Regions from separate parts of the Homo sapiens genome. Here regions 1, 2, 3, 5 and 6 are each linked to region 4. Evidence: promoter capture Hi-C in 16 types of primary human blood cells and fetal thymus (Javierre and others, 2016). All regions are on one chromosome and are shown on one strand. The core of a region is centred on a gene start or on the middle of the fragment in contact, and the rest is flanking DNA. Distances in the headings are between cores, read along the strand shown. Region 1 overlaps LINC02453 (long intergenic non-protein coding RNA 2453). Region 2 overlaps SLC25A3 (solute carrier family 25 member 3). Region 3 overlaps APAF1 (apoptotic peptidase activating factor 1). Region 4 holds the start of NEDD1 (NEDD1 gamma-tubulin ring complex targeting factor). Region 5 has its middle 92 kb from the start of TRD-GTC1-1. Region 6 has its middle 110 kb from the start of TRD-GTC1-1.

What was found. Contacts are between HindIII fragments. The CHiCAGO score rates a contact against its expected background, and 5 or more counts as called.
Region 1: a fragment that was not itself captured here is called in contact with the fragment with the promoter of NEDD1 in region 4 in 1 of 17 cell types (total CD8 T cells); the score reaches 5.7 in total CD8 T cells.
Region 2: a fragment that was not itself captured here is called in contact with the fragment with the promoter of NEDD1 in region 4 in 1 of 17 cell types (total CD8 T cells); the score reaches 5.7 in total CD8 T cells.
Region 3: a fragment that was not itself captured here is called in contact with the fragment with the promoter of NEDD1 in region 4 in 1 of 17 cell types (total CD4 T cells); the score reaches 5.2 in total CD4 T cells.
Region 5: a fragment that was not itself captured here is called in contact with the fragment with the promoter of NEDD1 in region 4 in 2 of 17 cell types (total CD8 T cells and M2 macrophages); the score reaches 7.3 in total CD8 T cells.
Region 6: a fragment that was not itself captured here is called in contact with the fragment with the promoter of NEDD1 in region 4 in 2 of 17 cell types (M1 macrophages and M0 macrophages); the score reaches 7.5 in M1 macrophages.

What each region holds. Positions count from the first base shown.
Region 1 is chr12:98,487,456-98,490,787 of GRCh38, forward strand. The region is part of intron 3 of LINC02453 (long intergenic non-protein coding RNA 2453); the gene reads right to left. Among named protein-coding and RNA genes, the nearest start is that of TRD-GTC1-1, 14 kb to the right of the region's middle. RefSeq lists a silencer at 3,076-3,332. The HindIII fragment of the contact is 2,579 bases long and covers 509-3,087 here.
Region 2 is chr12:98,595,934-98,599,120 of GRCh38, forward strand. It overlaps SLC25A3 (solute carrier family 25 member 3), which reads left to right. Exons shown (of 8, transcript NM_002635.4): 4 at 1,923-2,102; 5 at 2,589-2,770. Among named protein-coding and RNA genes, the nearest start is that of SNORA53, 2.1 kb to the right of the region's middle. The HindIII fragment of the contact is 1,282 bases long and covers 1,221-2,502 here.
Region 3 is chr12:98,649,847-98,653,192 of GRCh38, forward strand. All of the region lies in intron 4 of APAF1 (apoptotic peptidase activating factor 1), which reads left to right. Among named protein-coding and RNA genes, the nearest start is that of APAF1, 6.2 kb to the left of the region's middle. RefSeq lists an enhancer at 1-716. The HindIII fragment of the contact is 2,616 bases long and covers 5-2,620 here.
Region 4 is chr12:96,905,224-96,908,628 of GRCh38, forward strand. NEDD1 (NEDD1 gamma-tubulin ring complex targeting factor) reads left to right here and starts at 2,034. Exons shown (of 16, transcript NM_152905.4): 1 at 2,034-2,077; 2 at 2,381-2,633. RefSeq lists a silencer at 2,067-2,346 and enhancers at 2,587-2,676, 2,717-2,856. The HindIII fragment of the contact is 8,934 bases long and covers 1-3,405 here.
Region 5 is chr12:98,410,189-98,413,510 of GRCh38, forward strand. No RefSeq gene overlaps it. Among named protein-coding and RNA genes, the nearest start is that of TRD-GTC1-1, 92 kb to the right of the region's middle. The HindIII fragment of the contact is 2,004 bases long and covers 881-2,884 here.
Region 6 is chr12:98,386,764-98,390,263 of GRCh38, forward strand. No RefSeq gene overlaps it. Among named protein-coding and RNA genes, the nearest start is that of TRD-GTC1-1, 110 kb to the right of the region's middle. The HindIII fragment of the contact is 680 bases long and covers 1,085-1,764 here.

The sequences.
Region 1 (3,332 bases), core at 548-3,047, 1.6 Mb after region 4:
GTGCTGGAGCTGCCTCTTCCCTCATGTTCCAGCCTTGAAACTGGCCATGATGGCTGCAGCAGCTACTTTGCAGACATGAAGTGACAATCATGAAAAGAAATGTCCTTTTGCTAAAGGTAGCAGAGAAGAAAGACCCAGAACAAGAAGAGAGTACTCAAAGCCTATGATGGCCTTGTTGAGCTGCCAGACCAACCCCAACATCACTCAAGAGAATTGTTGTGAGTTAGAAATGGGAGAGAAGTTGGGCATGTGTTTCATGCCTATAATTCCAGCACTTTGGGAGGCCGAGGCAGGCAGATCACTTGAGGCCAGGAGTTCGACACCAGTCTGGCCAACCTAGTGAAACCCTGTCTCTACTAAAAAATACAAAACTTACCCGGGCATGGTGGCATGCCTATAATCCCAGCTACTCTGGAGGCTGAGGCAGAAGAACTGCTTGAAGCCGAGAGGCAGAGGTTGCAACAAGCTGGGATCACGCCATTGCACTCCAGCCTGGGTGACAGAAAGAAGCTTGTCTCAAAAAAAAAAAAAAAAAGAAAGAAAAGAGAAGAAAAAATGGGAGAAAGACTTTCCTCTCCATACCTTATACCTCCTGGTATCTGGTACTTTTTGAACTTTGTTCTGTGTGCATGAATTGCCTATTCAAATAAAACTGTAATGCCTGAGGTTTTTTTGTTTGTTTGTTTGTTGTTGTTTTTTTTTGAGATGGAGTTTCACTCTTGTTGCCCAGGCTAGAGTGCAATGGTGTGATCTCGGCTCACTGCAACCTCTACCTCCCAGGTTCAAGCAATTCTCCTGCCTCAGCCTCCCGAGCTGGGATTACAGGCGCATGCCACCATGCCAGGCTAATTTTGTATTTTTAGTAGAGATGGGGTTTCACCATGTTGGCCAGGCTGCTCTCGAACTCCTGACCTCAGGTGATCTACCCGCCTCAGCCTCCCAAAGTGCTGGGATTGCAGGCATGGGCCACCACGCCTGAGATCTTATCAATCAAGTATTTAAACCAAAAATATTTTACATCTACATTTTTTTAGTGGAAATACAATTTTAAAAAGCACAGTTTAGCCAGGTGCAGTGGCTCACACCTGCAATCCCAGCACTTTGGAAGGCTGAGGCAGGCAGATCACCTGAGGTCTGGAGTTCAAAACCAGTCTGGCCAACATGGCGAAATCCTGTCTCTACTAAAAATACAAAAAAAAAGAAAAAAAAAATCAGCCAGGCATGGTGGCGGACGCCTGTAATCCCAGCTACTCGGGAGGCTGAAGCAGGGAGAAATGCTTGAACCCGGGAGGTGGAGGTTGCAGTGAGCCGAGATCGTGGCACTATACTCCAGCCTGGGTGACAGAGTGAGACTCGGGCTCAAAAAAAAAAAAAAAAGGCACAGTTTGAGGGTGGGGGCTCGCACATGTAATCCCAGAACTTTAGAAGGCTGAGGAGGGAGGATCTCCTAAGCCCAAGAGACCAGGCTGGGCAACAAAGTGAGATCTCATCTCTATAAAAACCAAACAAAACAGTCTGGTGAAAAATGCGATAGAATGAAGTATATTATAGACAAAAGGGACCTTCAGTATCAACTCTCACATATTGATTGTCGATGAAGAAAAGAGTCAAACTCTGTAAAATATTTGAAGAGACTTATTCTGAGCCAAATATGAGTGACCATGGCCAGTGACACAGCCCCAGGAAATCCTGAGAACGTGTGCTCAAAGTGGTCGGACTACAGCTTTTTATTACACATTTTAGAGAGACAGAAGACATCAAAAAATACATGTAAGATGTACATTGGTTCAGTGAGGGTGGATGGGGCGCTTCTACATCATGAGTGAATTCAAAGATTTTCTGATTGGGAGTTAGTTGAAAGAGTTTATCTAAAGACCTGAAATTTATAGAAGGGAGTGCCTGAATTAAGATAAGGGGTTGCGAAAACCAAGGTTCTTGTTATGCAGATAAAGCCTCCAGGTAGCAGGCTTCAGAAAGAACACATTGTAATTATTTCTGGGTCTCACTCCATCACCCAGGCTGGAGTGCAGTGGTGCAATCTCAGCTAACTGCAGCCTCAACCTCCCAGGCTCAAGCCATCCTCGCACCTCTCAGCCTCTGGAGTAGCTGGGATTACAGATGCGCGCCACTACGTCCTGGTAATTTTTGTATTTTTAGTAGAGACAGGGTTTCACCGTGTTGCCCAGACTTATCTCGAACTCCTGGGCTCAAGCAACCCACCTGCCTCGGCTTCCCAAAGTGCTGGGATTACAGGAGTGGGCCACAGCACCAGGTCAGATTGTAAAACTTTTAATTTTTATTTATTTTTTTTATTTTATTTTATTTTATTTTATTTTTTGAGACGAAGTTTCGCTCTTGTTGCCCAGGCTGGAGTGCAATGGTGTGATCTCGGCTCACTGCAACCTCCACCTCCCAGGTTCAAGTAATTCTCCTGCCTCAGCCTCCCAAGTAGCTAGGATTACAGGCGCCCACACCCCCACCCCATGCCTGGCTAATTTTTGTATTAGCCAGAGATGGGGTTTCACCATGTTGGCCTGGCTGGTCTCGAACTCCTGACCTTCAGGTGATTCACCTGCCTTGGCCTCCCAAAGTGCTGGGATTATAGGCGTGAGTCACCATGCCCAGCCAAAAATTTTATTTTTTACCTTTTTAAGGTGCAAGACTCTCAGTAAATTCTCTCCTGGTTAAGGAAAAATATCTGGAAAGGGAAGGGGATTCTCTACTGAAAGTAGATTTTCCCCACAAGAGACACCTTTGCAGGGCCATTTCAAAATGTGTCAAAAATATATATATATTTTTTGGGGTAAACTACTTCAATTTACTTCAGGGCCTGCTGTCTGTCATGTTGGTATCTTACTGCTACAAAAAGCCTTCTTTGTCAGACTTATGTTAATGCTGGTCAGATGTGCCTGAATCCCAAAGGGACTCTGTCCCAAAGGGAGGAGAGTATAATGAGGCTTGTCTGACCACCTGTTCCCATCATGACATGAACTAGCGTTTCAGGTAACTTTGGAATGCCCCTGGACAAGGAGGCATCCATTCAACTGATTGGGGAGCTTAGAATTTTATTTTTGGTCTACATGGTAAAGCTTAAAGTTGCGGAAATCATTATCCTCAGTCAAGCTAAAGCCTAGGTATCCAGACCTCTCTTTCACCTAATTTATTTGCAATTAATCCAAAGTTCTAGGCCAGGCACAGTGACTCACACCTGTAAACCCAGTCCTTTGGGAGGCGGAAGCATGGAGGATCACCCGAGGCCAGGAATTCAAGGCTGCAGTGAGCTAAGATTGCACCACTGCTCTCCCGCCTGGGTGACAGAGCAAGACCCTGTC
Region 2 (3,187 bases), core at 612-3,111, 1.7 Mb after region 4:
CAACTGCTAGAAACTTCAGTAGGAAACCACATAGAATTTCTTTAAATTGTGGGCTTTATTTTGACTAGTGTTTTAAATCCAATAAATGCCTCTATTGTTTGAGTAAATTGTTCACTTTTAGAGTCTGGCTGTAAATGGCTCTTTGCTGCTGCTCTTCACTTCTGGCCGGAGTTCTTCAAGCTTACTAGTGCCCCAAATAGTCATTTAACAAGCACCTATGTGTTGGAGTGGGTAAACAAGTCTGTGTATTATGTGAAGTAACAATGTCCTTTATCTACTAATAAGACCAAGGCAAAGAGTACATGTAGATTTATTTAAAGTGCTCTTAATATCTTAGTATGAAAATTTTGTCAGATTAGCCTCTTGTTTATTTACACAACATTTTAAAATAATTTGAATATATTTTAATTAAGATCATTGAAACAAAAACAAGACATCGAAAATTTATTTGTTCCAAACTGGATTAGAAGTCTACTTACCTAAAAGAGAAATGAATTTGAAATATTAGGAGGGAGAGGAAGGTGATGTATACCATCCCTTCTAGTACTGGCAGAAATAGATAAGCTTTTCCTCCCCCCCCATTAGTTAATGTAATGGATATGAAATGTACCTTTGCTAAAACGTGTTATGCATGTCTCTTGAAGTGAATTTAGTTTATGTGCTTTTTTTTTTTAACTTGTGTTTAGTTTGTTTAGTGTTCACAAAACTTTATGCTATAAGCTACTTAAAGAACTAGCATATGTTAGGAATACAGTTATATCTATTATCTAGACAGTAGCTTTTAAAAAGTAGGAGGTGGGCCAAGCATGGTCGCCCACACCTGGAATGCCAGCATTTTGGGTAGCCGAAGCAGGTGGGTCACTTGAGGTCAGGAGTTCGAGATCAGAACTCAATCTAGCCAACATGGTGAAACCTCATCTCTGCTAAAAATACAAAAATTAGCTGGGCATGGTGGCGTGCCTGTAGTCGCAGCTACTCGGGAGGCTGAGGCAGGAGAATCGCTTGAACCTGGGAGGTGGAGGTTGCAGTGAGCTGAGATCACACCATGGCACTCCATCCTGGGCTACAGAGCAAGACTCAAAAAACAAACAAACAAAAAACACAAAAAAAGTAGTAGGAGTTGGGTGGTAAGAAATCTGTTAAGAATCAGTTTTGTTACGTATTTTTGTTGAAATTTTACCCTCTTAACTATCACTCCAAGACTTAAGTTTGACACAGAAAGCTTTTGTTGAAATTTTACCCTCTTAACTATCACTCCAAGACTTAGGTTTGACACAGAAAGCTAGACCTTAATGTACAACAGTTTCTATTTATAAAAGTAATCAAATGAACAATAATAAACAGTGATAAGCATAAACTAATAAAAGTTATATGAATGTAGTTCCTCACTCAAAATATCTTAATATTTTCAGATGTCAGTTGACCTTGGATAACTGAAGCCACAGAAAATGAACTCTTGGATAAGGGAGAGCTACTGTATTTCTTTTTTTTTTTTTGAGATGGAGTCTTGCTCTGCTGCCCAGGCTGGAGTGTAGTGGTGCCATCGTGGCTCACTGCAACCTCCACCTCCCTCCCTCAGGCTCAAGCGATTGTTCTGTCTCACCCTCACCCTCCCGAGTAGCTGGGATTACAGGTGCACGCCACCATGCCCGTCCAATTTTTTGTATTTTAGTAGAGATGGGGTTTCACTGTGTTGCCCAGGCTGGTCTTGAACTCCTGAGCTCAGGTAATCCACCTGCCTCAGCCTCCCAAAGTGCTGGGATTACAGATGTGAGCCACCGTGCCTGGCAGGAATTACTGTAGTTACCTTTTGTGTAGTTGCTGAAATTTATTATGGAACCCAAACAAAAATAATCATGAGATTAAATTTTTATGTTAGCTGTTTGGTGCATTTAATTTTTTTTTTCTTGTTTTAAATAAAGGTGGACCCCCAAAAGTACAAGGGCATATTTAACGGATTCTCAGTTACACTTAAAGAGGATGGTGTTCGTGGTTTGGCTAAAGGATGGGCTCCGACTTTCCTTGGCTACTCCATGCAGGGACTCTGCAAGTTTGGCTTTTATGAAGTCTTTAAAGTCTTGTATAGCAATATGCTTGGAGAGGTATGTAATTAACTTTAAAATTGAATGTTCCGAGTGTTTAAGACTTTCCGAGTGTTCTTAGATTTTTGTCTGTCTTGCCTTATTTTAGCACTGAAGAAAATGGTCCTACAAAGTGAGCAACTTGTTTTAAATCGTATGCCTGTGTCAGCAGAGACAGGTTGATAAATGTATTTCATTAAATTACAATTCTCCTTTTAATATACTATCTTGTTTTCTAAGTAAGTTGGATTTTGAGTTTTTTAGAGAAGGGCTCTGGGACTCCTTTGCGTAGTTCCGGGGCATGGCATCTAGATATTTTTTGAATATTCATGTTGTTCACATAGTTACGTGTTTTGTTAATGAGGTTATGAGACCACATATATATTCCATATCATCGTGTGTTACTTTATAAAATGTCTGAAGCTTAGTTGTTTTCTAGAACTGTCACTTCAATTGAAAACCAACACAACAGCAATTCACATCCCTTCCTTGTGTTTTGGATTTTAGGAGAATACTTATCTCTGGCGCACATCACTATATTTGGCTGCCTCTGCCAGTGCTGAATTCTTTGCTGACATTGCCCTGGCTCCTATGGAAGCTGCTAAGGTTCGAATTCAAACCCAGCCAGGTTATGCCAACACTTTGAGGGATGCAGCTCCCAAAATGTATAAGGAAGAAGGCCTAAAAGCGTAAGTAAACACTTAAAAATTTATACTATGAAAGTACTTATTTTAAGTGAACTTCATTTTTTTTTGTTTTTTTTTTTGTTTTGTTTTTTTGAGACAAAGTCTCGCTCTGTCACCCAGGCTGGAGTGCAGTGGCGTGATCTCGGCTCACTGCAAGCTCCGCCTCCCGGGTTCACGCCATTCTCCTGCCTCAGCCTCCCAAGTAGCTGGGACTACAGGCGCCTGCCACTGCGCCCAGCTAATTTTTTGTATTTTTCAGTATAGACGGAGTTTCACCGTCTCCATCTCCTGACCTCATGATCCGCCCACCTTGGCCTCCCAAAATGCTGGGATTACAGGTGTGAGCCACCGCACCCGGCTTCTTTTTTTTTTTTCTTTGAGACGGAGTTTTGCTCTTGTTGTCCAGGCTGGAGTGCAATG
Region 3 (3,346 bases), core at 63-2,562, 1.7 Mb after region 4:
GACAAGCTTCCTGAATGAGATGACATCTTAGCAGGAGTTTGGAGAAAGAATAAAAGTTAGCTAGGCAGTGAAGGTAGGGATGGGAGACTAGGGAAGGTGGGAAAGGTAGTGGGTGGTTACTGGGGTGGGGAAGGGCATACTGGGTAGAAGAGGGTTTAAGAAATGTTGGCAGGTATACCACTGACCTTAGCGATCCTGGTAGGTTCTCAGGGTATTCATCAGGAATAGTTGTATAGCTCCATCAGTTCTAGGCTGCCCCCATTCATCAGTGTGTTCTCATTCATCAGTGTGTTCTCTCTGTATGACACTTCTAGGGGAATTCAAAGACAGTTCCCAACTTCTAGTAGTTAATAATTTTTTTTTTAGTAGGCCAGGCACGGTGGCTCATGCTTGTAATCCCAGCTGAGGCGTGGATCACCTGAGGTCAGGAGTTCAAGACCAGCCTGGGCAACATGGTGAAATCCCGTCTCTACCAAAAATACAAAAAAAATCAGCTGGGTGTGGTGGTGAGCACCTGTAATCCCAGCTACTCGGGAGGCTGAGGCAGGAGAATCACTTGAACCTAGGAGGCGGAGGTTGCAGTGAGCTGAGATCGCACCACTGCACTCCAGCCTGGTCAACAAGAGCAAGACTCCATCTCAAAAAAAAGTTTTTTGTTTTTTTTTTTTTGATATGTATGTATAACATGATCTACGGTTAAGACAGTTTAGACAGAATGATTGGAATAAGTAGTAAGCCTCTAAGAGACTTAGAAATATGGAGGCTAGGGTATATCTATGTGTACACATGGCCTCAGTTTAATTTCATAGCCTTTGTAAGTGGTATAGACTATACTCTTGTCAGAAGTATGCCTGATTCCTAACCCTTGGTTTTTCCCCTCTATCATTACAGAGAAGTTTCCTGAGACTTAGCTCCTTTCAAGTCTCAGAGCCAAGGATTTTTTTAAGCCCCTACTGCAAAGTTGATCACTAAGGATATTTCAGGATAAATTTAGCTTAAGTTCCTTTAGTGTGAAGGAATGAGTTTTCCTTTCAATATTATGAACTTTCTTTGTGTATTTATAATATTCCAATTTATAGGTTTAAAAGAACACTCCCTCTCCCCATTTAAATTGCTCTACATTATTGTGATGAATTTTCAATTCTAGGGATTAAAATTGACTAACAATCTATGGAATTAAATATTCAGGAGTCATATTGTATAAATTGTTATCTTGGAACAGGTTTTAACTACTTTGTTTTGAGAAAATCCTAGAGATACTGGCAACTGTACATGTGAGCTTAATTCATATTCCTCGTACTTTTGTGGGATCTCAAGTTCAGAGGACTGAGTTATTCATATTCCTTAGTTCACGGCTTATTATAGTAGATCTGTACTAGGCTGAGCTTTTCACTGTATTTATTTATTTCCATTTCAAAATTTCCTATTCTTATTTCCTTTCCCCTCTCCATGGACAATCCTAATGTATTTAATGTATGTTCTTTGTAAATGTCTGTGTAAAGTGTGTACTCTTGTAAAATATGTATGTTGTTGGTATGCAGGTATTTTAAATTTGCATAGATGTTATGGTATTATTCTGTTTTTTATCTCCCATGACACAATGTTTTTAAGATTTATCCTTGTTGCTATGTATACATGTTATTTGTTACACCTGATTGCCACCAACCCATTTTACTGCTCATTACCCTAAGTAAATGGATATGTAGATTGTATCCAACTCTCTGCTGCTGCAGCAAAGCTGGGTTGAACTTCTATGTGAGTAAGAATTTCTTGGGTATTTGTAGCTAGGAGCAAAATTAGTAATTATTTATTTATTTTTGTTTTTTTTTAAAGAGACAGAGTGTCACCCTGTTGCCCAGGCTGAGTGCAGTGGCCATATCATAGCTCACTGCAGCCTCAAACTTTTAGGCTCAAGTGATCCTCCCACCTTAGCCTCCTGAGGAGCTGGGTGCACACGCCACCATGCCTGGCTAATTATTTATTTATGAAACAGGGTCTTGCTTTGTCACCCAGGCTGGAGTGCAGTGGCACAATCTTGGCTCCCTGCAACCTCTGCCTTCTGGGCTCAAGTGATCTTCCCACCTCAGCCTCCGGAGTAGCTGGGACCACAGGTGCATGCTGACACACCCAGCTAATTTTTGTATTTTTTGTAGAGTTGGGGTTTTGTCATGTTACCGAGGTTGGTCTCGAACTCCTGAGCTCAAGCAATTCACCCACCTTGGCCTCCCAAAGTGCTGGAATTGCAGGTGTAAGCCACCATGCTTGGTGTGTTTTTAAACATTTTTTTGTAGAGACAGGTTTTTGCTATCTTGTCCAGGCTGGTCTCAAACTCCTGGGCTCAAGTGATGCTCCCGCCTTGGCCTCCCAAAGTGCTGGGGTTACAGATGAAAGTCACCATGTCCAGCCAAAATTACTAAATGATAGGATATACAAATACCAAATTTGATTCCCCTCCAGTCTGTACATTTCCCCCAGATGAGTATGGGGACTCCGATAATTCTACTTGTGCAGTGACGGTTGGTATGATCCAGCTTTGTAATTTTTGCCAGGCAAACTTCTATAAAGTTGTGTCTTTTACTTTGCATTTCTCTGGTAACTCAAGTTTGAACATTTCTTCATAAGCTTGTTGTTAGCCTTTTGGGTTTCTTTTTTTATGGATTTTGTTTATATTATTTGTCTATTTTCCATTGGGGTTTCCAATTTTTTTTTCTTTTTGCTTTTTAGGAGTTTCTTATATATTCTAGACATTAAACTTTGTTGGTTTTAGACTTTTATTTTATTTTATTTTATTTTTTTTGAGACGGAGTTTCGCTCTTGTTGCCCAGGCTGGAGTGCCATGGCGCGATCTTGGCTCACCACAATCTCTGCTTCCCAGGTTCAAGCGATTGTCCTGCCTCAGCCTTCTGAGTAGCTGGGATTACAGGCACCCACCACCACGCCTGGCTAATTTTGTATTTTTAGTAGAGACGGGGTTTCTCCATGTTGGTCAGGCTGGTCTCGAACTCCCGACCTCAGGTGATCCCCCTGCCTCGCCTCCCAAAGTGCTGGTATTACAGGCGTGAGCCACTGTGCTCAGCTGGTTTTAGACTTTTAAATACCTTATTTTAATTTGCCATCTGATTAATTTTTTTCCTGGGTGTTCTCAGTAGACGAGAACTCTGATGTAGTCAAACTAATCAGTTTTTTTTTTTGTCTTCTAACTTGTGTTTCCTGAGTTTTGTTCAAGTAGTCCTATTACAGTCTTATTATTCATATTTAGTTCTTTATTCTCTGGAGTCTGCCTTTGTATGTCCACTAATTCAAGAATAGGTGCTTTCCCAAAGATAAATTTTAATCTCTGGAGTTC
Region 4 (3,405 bases), core at 784-3,283:
CTTCCACATCTTTTCTGATTTGTTTTTCTTATCTGGATGTTCTATGAATTACTGAGAAAATTCTGTCAGTCTCCAACAATGACTATGGGTATGCTTTTTTCCTCCTTTAGCTTTGATACTTATTCTTCATATATTTCAAAATTCTCTTACGTTCACCTATACACTTAAAATTGATAATGGCTTGTGGTTATTTACCATTTTATCATTATGAAATATTTCTCTTTGTCTCTAGAAATATTCTTTGTTGTGATGGCTACTTTTGGAAATCTGTATATGTTTATATAATTCATATATTAGCAAGGCTTCTAACATTTGGCATCTATTGTTCGTTAAACTATTATACAGAACTGAGGAAACAGTGTATACATAGGCACAGAGGCACGGACAAAAATGACAGGACTGTTTCAGGGCCAGTAAGATTTGATGAGGCCGCAGCATCAGTGAGGACAGAGGAATGGAGGTTTCCATTTGGCCCTATACGCTGTGTTATGGCTCTTGACTGTATAGCATAAAGGTCTGGGACAGTCTTTGCAGTCTCATGGTCCCAGGTTTAACTTCTGAATCTACCATTTATTAAACTTGTAACCTTGGACAAGTTACTTAACCTCTATTTCCTCATATGTAAAATGGGGACAAATAATAGCACATACTTCATGTGTTTTTAGAAAGATGAAATTATATATATATTGCATACATACACATTACGTCTATATACACAAATACAGTGCTTAGTAAAGTGTTCAATAAATATCTATTTTTATATGTATAACTAGTATTATATCATATAATATGTATATATTATATTACATGTATTATTATATATATTTTCATATAGTCTAGTCTCAATTTTCCTGCTGGCTTCAATTTTCAGAGATTTAATTAATTGCCCTTTTTGTTTGAAGTTTTCTTTTCTCCATTTGCTCCCATTCTCCCTGCCCCCACTCCCTTACCGTACTTTCTTAGTTCCCAACTTTCTGGGCCTCCTCCCTGCCCAAATTGGATTTCATAGCCTCAAGAACTGCAGACTGTACAATTAAGGTAGTTGCTGCTTGCTATCTTTCTCCTTTTGCCACTCCCCCATGAACCTCAGTAACTTGGCTACGATTTCAATTTCTGCTCTGAAAAAATGCACTTATTAGAATTTTCCAATTATCTGCAATATGAATGCAGATAACTGGGGCTGATGTACCTAGTTCAGAAACACACCCCATGTAGTTGTGATGAAAGAATAACACTTTTTGCAGAAGAAATGCTCTATATTTATGATAAATATTCTTAGCAAAAATTGTCAGTAGAGCTATAAAAGGACCTTTGGAAGGGGCACTTGAAAACTCGGCTCAGCAACTTCCTTTTCCACCTTGAAGTATCCCCTTCAAAAGAATTCCCAAACAGATGATGTTTGATGTTCCGGACCTCGCAGCATGATGCGAAAGAAAGATCATGGGTTTTGAAGTAGGTTAGTGCAGACGCCTACTCTTTGGGTTATTTCTCAGCCTGAGCGCGTTTCCTGGCTTGTAAATCGCATGTAGGAATCCTTTCCTAAATCCACATCCACAATAGTTTCCCTTATTATGGGTCTTCGTGCATCTTATACCTTTCATTATCATAGTTTCACTTTCCATTTAAGCATCTAATAACGTCAGCTTCCTATAGTGCATTGTAAGCTCCACAAGGCCAAGGACCACGAGAATTCACTGTACCCCTGTATCCCCAGGCTAAACCATCACTGTACACTCAAGAGTCTAGCACAGTGCCTGGCACACAGTAAACAGCAAGTGAATGACAAGCAGTTGGCAGTGGCCGGAGCTCCGTCGCTGGGGCGTGGAGAGGGCCGCCCCGGCCCGCAGTTCCCGCCCTGACACTGGGATAACTTCCCCCGCGGCTGCCCAGCGCCGCCCTGACCAGACCCTCTGTACCCCGACTTCTGTCCGGCCAGAAGCCACAGCCGCACGCAGCGCCTCGCCCCGTGACGTCACTCGGGGCGGGACTTCCGGCCGCCGAAGTTTAACAGTCCAGGCGGGAGCCGGAAGCCCAGCGCGGAGCCGGCCGCGGCCCCCTGTTGTGTTGCTGCGGAGAGGTGAGGTTCCGGAGGCCCTGAGGTCAGCGGGCCCCCGCCCGCCGCGTCCGCGCACCCTCCCGATCCTAAGACCCGCTCCGTCCCCCTCAGAGGGCGGGGCGGCGGTCCTTGGGCTTTGCGCGCCCGGAGCGGTTGCTGGGCGGGGGCGCGGCGGCGCGCTGGGCTGGGAAGTGTCCGGGGAGGCGCGGGCCGGGGTCGCGCACCTCCCGGAGCCTTGTGGGGTGTGCTGCCTCCGAAAAGTTTGCCTCGTCTCCACAAGTCTGTCTCCTTTTTTGTCAACCTCAAGTACTTTTCTTTTGGCAGGTACTTGGATGCATTTTACAGGTTAGCCTCACTTGAGCTGTTGTCCTGCAAGTAAAGTGTATTTTTGGTGATTGAAAGTTGGAGAACTTTCATTTCAGCTGAGTGGTGTAGTTGAATTGGTTCCTGTAGCCGCTGTCCCTAAACCCAGGCCGACGTTACCGCCTTGTGTCCTGACTGCTAGCTTTCGACGGGACCGTCTTTGAGGGACTCATGTAAAGTCTCTCCCTTAATGCTCAGTTCTTAGAAGACCGAGGTAGGTGGGCAGATGGTCCTCTTCCCCGCCCCGCTTTAAGAGCCGAAAACAAACATTAAATCACCCGGCGAGTTGTGTTTCCTAAGTTGGAGCAGGTCGTTTGAACCCAGTTTTTCTGAGCCCAGGCCTCAGTGATCTACCCACTACACCCCGCAGCTCACCAGGCCTGGTTACGATGCAGTTAGACACAGCTTGCAGTTGTGGTTTACAGGGCTTAGAGCTCGCTTTTCCAGCAATTCATTAGTTGTTCCTTGACTTGGGAACCAAGGGGGCACGTGTTACACATGTTTAAGGCTCCAAATCCAAACATTGTGTTACATCTCTGCAGGTGACTTTAATGGCTTTTAGTAGCACTGTATCGGATGAATGGAGCATAAGGAAGCACATGAGTGAATTACATTAACTTTTTGTCTCGAGAATGAAACGTTTCTATAATTCTGTCTTTAACTTGTCCTCTGAAATGGCTTATACTAGACGTAGGTGTGCTGTTGTATTGGTGACTCGGGGACCTGCCTGTGACATCACTAATGCTGTGCAGTAGTCTTGCACTTTCCATACTAGGAAGGTGTGGGAGGTATAATTCTGTGCCCTCTCCCTTTCCTTTTCTCCCATGTACTTTTGAGCATCTTTTTTTCTCACTTATCGTTCATTACTACCTGTTGCTCTTTAAAGTGCCTGTCTAGAGCAGCTTCTTTGCCTTCTGTTTTCTAGACTTCCTTGGTTTGTGAAATCACCTTGTTAGAATTACGTGTTTCAGCTGTATGCTCTGAAT
Region 5 (3,322 bases), core at 633-3,132, 1.5 Mb after region 4:
CACCAAAGACTGTCCTGGATATTTTAGAAAATGTCTTTTAACTCTATCCAAAAAAAGTTTAAGCAAGAAATTCTTTTCCCTCAGGCCAACTGAAATAATAATTAAACTGACTGCTATGGTTTACATGCATCTCCCAAATTTCATTTGCTGGAAACTTAATCCTCAGATTCATATGTTGATGGAATTTGGAGGAGGGACCTTTCAAAAGTAATTAGGATTAGACATGCTCATCAGGGTAGGACCCCTGTGATGGGACTGCTGGCTTTATAAAAAGAGGAAAAGAGACCTGAGCTGGCACACTCTTGCCCTTCACCATGTGATGCCCTCTGCCATGTTATGACACAGCAAGAAGGCTTTCACCAGATGTCAGCACCATGATTTTGGACTTCCCAGCCTCCAGAACTGTGAACTAAATAAAATTTTCTTTAGCATTACCTAATCTGTGGCATTCTGTTATAGCAACAGAAAATGGACCAAGACACTGACTTTTTTCCTTGTTTTTCAATCTCACTCCTTTTCACTATTAAATTTTGGCTGCCATGTTTTAGCTGAGAATTAATCCTCCTCAAAATTAAAATTTTATTAGAAAGCACAGATAAATCCACAACCACCATCAAAGTTTCATGGGATTTTGTGTATTTTTCTGAAGATTCTGCAGAAATTTTGCACAAAACAAGAATGTGTACTTTGTGGGACACATTTTTTAAAACCTATCTAAACCCTGACTTTCTATATACTCTAACAGCAATACCAGTAAGATCATTTTACATTCATGGTCATTCTAACCTGGCTGTTCTCCTTATCAAACGTGTGACCTGGATGAGGCACCTCACCCATTTGAGATTTGGTTTGTTTGCCTTTAAAATGAAAATAATAATTAAGCTTCCATTTAAGGACAAGTTCAAAGCAAAAGGTGAATTGGGCCTATGTTTCTGAGTAATGCTGAAAATGCTCTAGTTTTCCAGAACGTTGGTACCTTGGCCATACTCTCTCCTTAGCACACCCCCACTCCTGCTCCACTTAAAAACAAGTCATGCTTTTTGTTGTTTTTTGATGCTTATTCCCCTCTGCCTGAAATTCCCCAACTTCTCTATCTCAAGCTGATCACTCCTTCACTCCCTACTCTGTTTCATGACAGCTTATCTCATCATATTATATTATATTTATTTATGTCACTAGTTCTCCTAAATAGATAGTTTGTTCCTTGAGGTGGCAAGAAGGTCTTATTCATCCCTGTATCCTTAGCCCCTAGCAAATTTCCTGGCATAAAATATGCATTGACTGAATAAATGAATGTATGACAATGCGTAAAAAGTCTAGTAGAAACATGCCAATTATGGGGAGACTAAAAATTCTAATAGTATATATCAAGGAATCACTATGTTTATTAACTATTGGTTTTGTATCCATTCAAATATCATGAGCAATTTTAATTAATGGTAGTATGTGCAAAGATGAGAACTTCTTTTAACCAGATTCATTCTATGTAAAGTCACCCTCTGCCTCTTATTCTTCACTTCTCTTATTTCCATCACAGGAATAATCACAATTTATAACAATTTCCTCTTATTGTTGCTATTTTTCTCCTCTAGAAGTTCTTGATTTTGTCTGTCTTGATCATGGCTGAGGCACAGTCCCAGTACGCTGTAGGTGTCCAAAAAATATTTGTTCAGGGCCAGGCACAGTGGCTCACACCTGTAATCCCAGCATTTTGGGAGGCAGAGGTGGGTGAATTGCTTGAGCTCAGGAGTTCGAGACCAGCCTAGGCAACACAGTGAAATTACATCTCTGAAAAAACACAAAAATTAGCTGGGTATGGTGGTGTGTGCCTGCAGTCCCAGCTAGTCAGGAAGCTGAGATGGGAGGATTGCTTGAGCCCAGGAGGCGTAGGTTGCAGTGAGCCGAGATCACACCACTGCACTCCAGCCTGGGTGATAGATCCCTACTCTATCTAAAAAAAAAAAAAAAAAAAAAAAAAAAAAATTATTCAGGAAATGAGTGAAACCACCAAGTATGGAAGCAAATCTCTTATAGAATCTCTCCATGCCATCAACTACTTGTATTAAATTCCCAAGATGATTAAGGGAAATCAGAATTTCAGCCTTTTGGGGGAACCTAAAGAGGCACAATAAATAGCACTCTCTTCTCCTTTCTGAACAAATTGAGTAGTAAAGCAATGGGGCTGTAGTTAGAGGATCAAAATTTTACCTTTAATCAAGCTGAAATCAAAAAACTTGGTAAGTGGCCCCATCATACTCAATCTCAGAATTGTATAAACTCGACCTCAAATCTCAGCAGTCTCTCTCTGTTTGAGGGTAGGGGAGCTAATTTTTTCCTTAAAAATTATGGAGTAGGAGAGCAGAGGAGAACACAGGTTTCCTGGACAGCTCATCCCAAGAACAAGGGCAGCAAGATGTGGGTCCCAAATGCACAGTTCGTGAGTCCATGCTGGCTGATCAGAGGCAGCACTTCACCTCCCACAGACAGAGGGAGGGAGGAAACCAAGAGACCAGTAAACTAATGGGGCTCCCAGTCTCTCCAGTGGAATAAAACATCAAGACTGGAGTTTCCTTTCTCCCACCCCCACCTTGCCTTGACTTCAGATACACCTATTTTCAGATGCTGTCTGTAGAGAGCCTGAATTTGGCCAAGTGCATTAAGCCCACCAGGCCAATGTTAATGATTACAGGAGAAAACATCACTCTCATGTCAACAAAATAAACAGAGGTTCAGGCAGCCTAAATAATTTAGCCTTTTTTCATCATTATTGGAATGCACAATACTATTGGCCAGTAATATAACTATGAAAAAAAATAAAAACCCTAGGAAATAATGCTTTCTATCACTTTCATTGATCTATCTTTGGTTGTGTGGCTTGCTCTAAAGCTTCCCAGCCAGCTTGCTCCCTGATTTGGCCCAAATCACTCCCAAGCCACTGAGCTTCTGGTGAAGGTAGTAGGAACCTTGCCTTGGTCAGCAGAGGCCACACAGAATAGCCCTTTCTTAAATATTCAAGATCCTCTGTCTGAAGTTGTTCTTTTCCTGGATGGTCAAAGATCCTGAGGAATTCTCTGACAGCAGTTCTCTCTGGCTGGCAAAGCAAGATAGAGGAAGACGGGAGAAGAGCAAGGAAGACACCCTTAACATTCTTCAAAAATACTTCTTCAAGATGCCATAAGGAGAGGCATTTTCCCCAGATCTTCCAGCCTACGAGGAGGGTGCAGAGCTTCTATGGAGGGGTTAAAAATAATTTTATCACTTGGATAAAACAGAGAGAAAAATCCAAATGTAAATGTTTGAAGATGTGGTCTTTTCAGGTGCC
Region 6 (3,500 bases), core at 175-2,674, 1.5 Mb after region 4:
GCCGGGCGTGGTGGCAGGCACCTGTAATCCCAGCTACTCAGGAGGCTGAGGCAGGAGAATCATTTGAACCCAGGAGGCAGAGATTGCAGTGAGCCGAGGTCACGCCACTGCACTCCAGCCTGGGAGACAAACCGAGACTCTGTCTCAAGAAAAAAAAAAAAAAGAAAAAAAGGAAAAATGCTTGCTGACTCTCTGCACGAAGGTAACCTTCGGAAGCAGGGAGGTCTGGCCATCTTGTTTTACTACCCTCGTGTTTCTCCCAGGTAAACCTCAGGGAATGGCCACCACTGGCTCCTGATCTGTGGCCGAACATCTACTCTCCTCCCTCCAGGTCCTTTGCCATTTTTTCTCTTCCGGAACCTTCCAGTATTCCAAAATAAATACTGTATTTTTAAATCTGAAAATTTAGAACACATTCCAGTTACTTATCTGGATTTTTTTAAAACAAGAAAGGACTCCCAATTGCTGCAGTCAGTCTTTTAGAAAAGCAAAGAATTTTCTCTCTTGGGGAGTTGCTACATATGACGCTATTCTGTTTTGAAGGATCTTAGATAAGTCTTCAATTTTGTAAAGTTTTGAGATTAATAATACCTTAGGGGGAAAAACGCTGAAAGGTAGGCAGGTCTTGTCACAGTAAAAGAAAAGATTCTTTCCTGCTTTGCTGTGATTAGCTGCATAAGTTGTGGTGCGAGTTCCAGTGCTAAATGAATTAGTATGCATCCCACCCAGAGTACTGTTTGTTGAAGTAAAATGCTTACAATCTTTGCTTGGGGGAGGAAAAAAAAAGGGTATGTCATTGAGTGAATATGAATTAATCAGTACTTTATGGACAGAACCCATAATTTTAAAGCAGGGAAAAAAAGCCGAGGCATTTATCAGAGTTCCACTCAGCAATCTCCCTCTGTCATTGCTAATAAATCTTTTATGAAATGGAGTTTTGCAATCTTTGCAGGAACATTACCCACCCCCCACCTTTTCTTTGCAGGAAAAAAATAAGTTAGCATCCATCTCTAATATTTTACCCTCCCTTCCTTATTTGAGTGTCCTGTACTCAGAAAAAATCTCTGAAGCTCTTTATTTTTAAAGCTTTTTTCTCCCCCAATTTATAATGTTAAGACCTCTTTCATCAGAAGAAATAATTCATCTAAGTCTTCTCACAGGAGATTTAAGGAAAGAAGCTGAGTTTCAGGTGAGGAATGCAATATTTTTAATAAGTGTAATATCCCGGGCCTGCTAAACAATCAATATTTATAGATAGAGTGATAAAGTCCGTCGGGAAATAGAGTTTGGAGATGGGTAAGAGGATAATTAAAGGATAAAACATTCCAATTCAAATGTTTTATAATTTTCCTATCGCTACTCACAGAATCAAGATTCTGCCGAATTATAGACAGCCTGCCAATAACCTCATGATGCCCGGATTTAATTAGGATTTTATGCTCCCACCTGAAGGTTAGGTTCATTAGCTGTAAAATAAGCCACTGGATGTCTGGATTAAGAATTAAAGGGAACCCTAAGTGTAGAGTGGCACGTAGCCAGTTTCTAGCCACTTAAACCGTGCAAATGGACGTGTGATCATTTTCCCCGAGGTTGGTAACTTTTTATTTTTAGCCACAAATCCACAGGCCATTTCTCTTGGTTAGGGCTGGGACCTGATGGCGGTCGAAAACTTAAAAAGGTACACGACTGAGGAACAAGTTGTTAAGAGGCTATTATGAAGGGTTGACGGGAGGGGGTGGGAGGTGCATAATGATTTTGCCATTAAGCTTTCGTTCCATTTTACAGCTTGGATTTATTTATAACAACAGGTGGTGGTATTTGTGGGGAATTGCTTGTTTTTTCATTTGAGAAGGGCAGCTCCATACATCTGCTGGGAGGTGAAACAAAACCTTTTCCAAACACCCGTTTCCTCGCTTTGTGCATCACCATTAGGAAGGAAGAATTTGTAGCAAAAGGCCACCCTGCCATTATTTCTTCCTGATGACACTCATTTAGCAGCCATTAAAATGCAAATAGAACTATGATTTTTAGATCACAAAATTAACATTAACGGTTGGATGATTGATTAAAGGTCATGGCAACGGTATAACTTAATTTCTTAGATAATTGTGTTCGGTTTTCTGCAGACTGTTTGGGTTTCCGAATTAATTTTATCTGTTGTTGAACACTGACAGGTGCAGTAATTGGCACAATCTCCTTTGAGCTCATTTCTTCCCGTGCACCTTGCCCTCTTTTCTTCCCCGAAGCCGTTGCCTACAACACAGAAGAGAAGGCCAAACTGGCCAGCTTGCATCAGTGGACTTATGCATCTGGGTGAGGTCACTAGAGGGGTTATTACAGAGCTGCGAAGCCCCAGATAGAATTTCATTCTCTGGCTAACAAGTTTTCCCTCTAAGAACTCCCTGCATCAGGCTCACTGTGGTAAAAAATGACCCCTGGGCCTGAGGCTAGCCTCCTCAGATCCCTGGGCGAAGGATCCCATCTCAGACCCATTTTTCTTTAATGGAGGCAATAAGGCATGGGATAGAGGTAATAATAACCCCACCGGCTTTTCGTGTCACCTTTCTATGTGAGAGTTCAGGCAGTGACCCAGGAAGCTGAGATGGGAAGTGGATGGAGATTGGGTCTATCTGCAGTGCTTCTCAAATGTCAAAAAATAAAATACAGATGGTGCTTACTTGGCAGGCTACATACCTTCCTCAATCCCGATAAATATGGAACCCTGTACTGTAAAGCCAAGAATTCACAGAAGCAGCACCATAGTGCTGAGAAAATTGAGTTAAACTTTATTATAATTACTATTACTATTAACTCTCAAAATGATTTTTCCTAGAAGTTTCAAAAGACTTCATTTTATCATGATGGGTTCTATTTTGCAAACTTCTGTCTATCAGCTAGATTCCAACTCAAATCATATCCTCTCCTTCTTATGAAGTCTTAGACTAATGCTTCACAGCCAGTTCCTAACTGACTGGTCCTGCCCTCTGAGAGCTCACAGTCTGGTGGGAGAGGCCTTGCACATGAAGCAATTAAAGAATAATGCAGAGTGGTATGCTAAGCCATTGCCAGATGTAAGATCCTTAAGGTCACAACCATGTTTCATCAGGCTTTAATTCAACACACGTAATCATTCAACAAACATATGTTGAACATCTTTTATGTGCCAGGCTCTGTGCCCCAGTATCTAGGATATTCTAGAACACAGTCCCTTCAGAACGTAACTTATAGCCTCTGATGGAGTACAAGAAAGGGGTAATAAGCAATAGACAATATTTAAAAGTGAGCTGAGGCCAGATGCAGTGGCTCACGCCTGTAATCCCAGCACTTTGGGAGGCCAAGGCAGGAGAATCATTTGAGCCCAAGGGTTGAGACCAGCCTAGGCAACATGGTGAAACCCCCTCTCTACAAAAAATACAAAAATTAGCTGGGCATGGGGGTGTGCACCTGTAGTCCCAGCTACTCAGGAGGCTGAGGTGGGATGATCACTTGAGCCTGGGAGG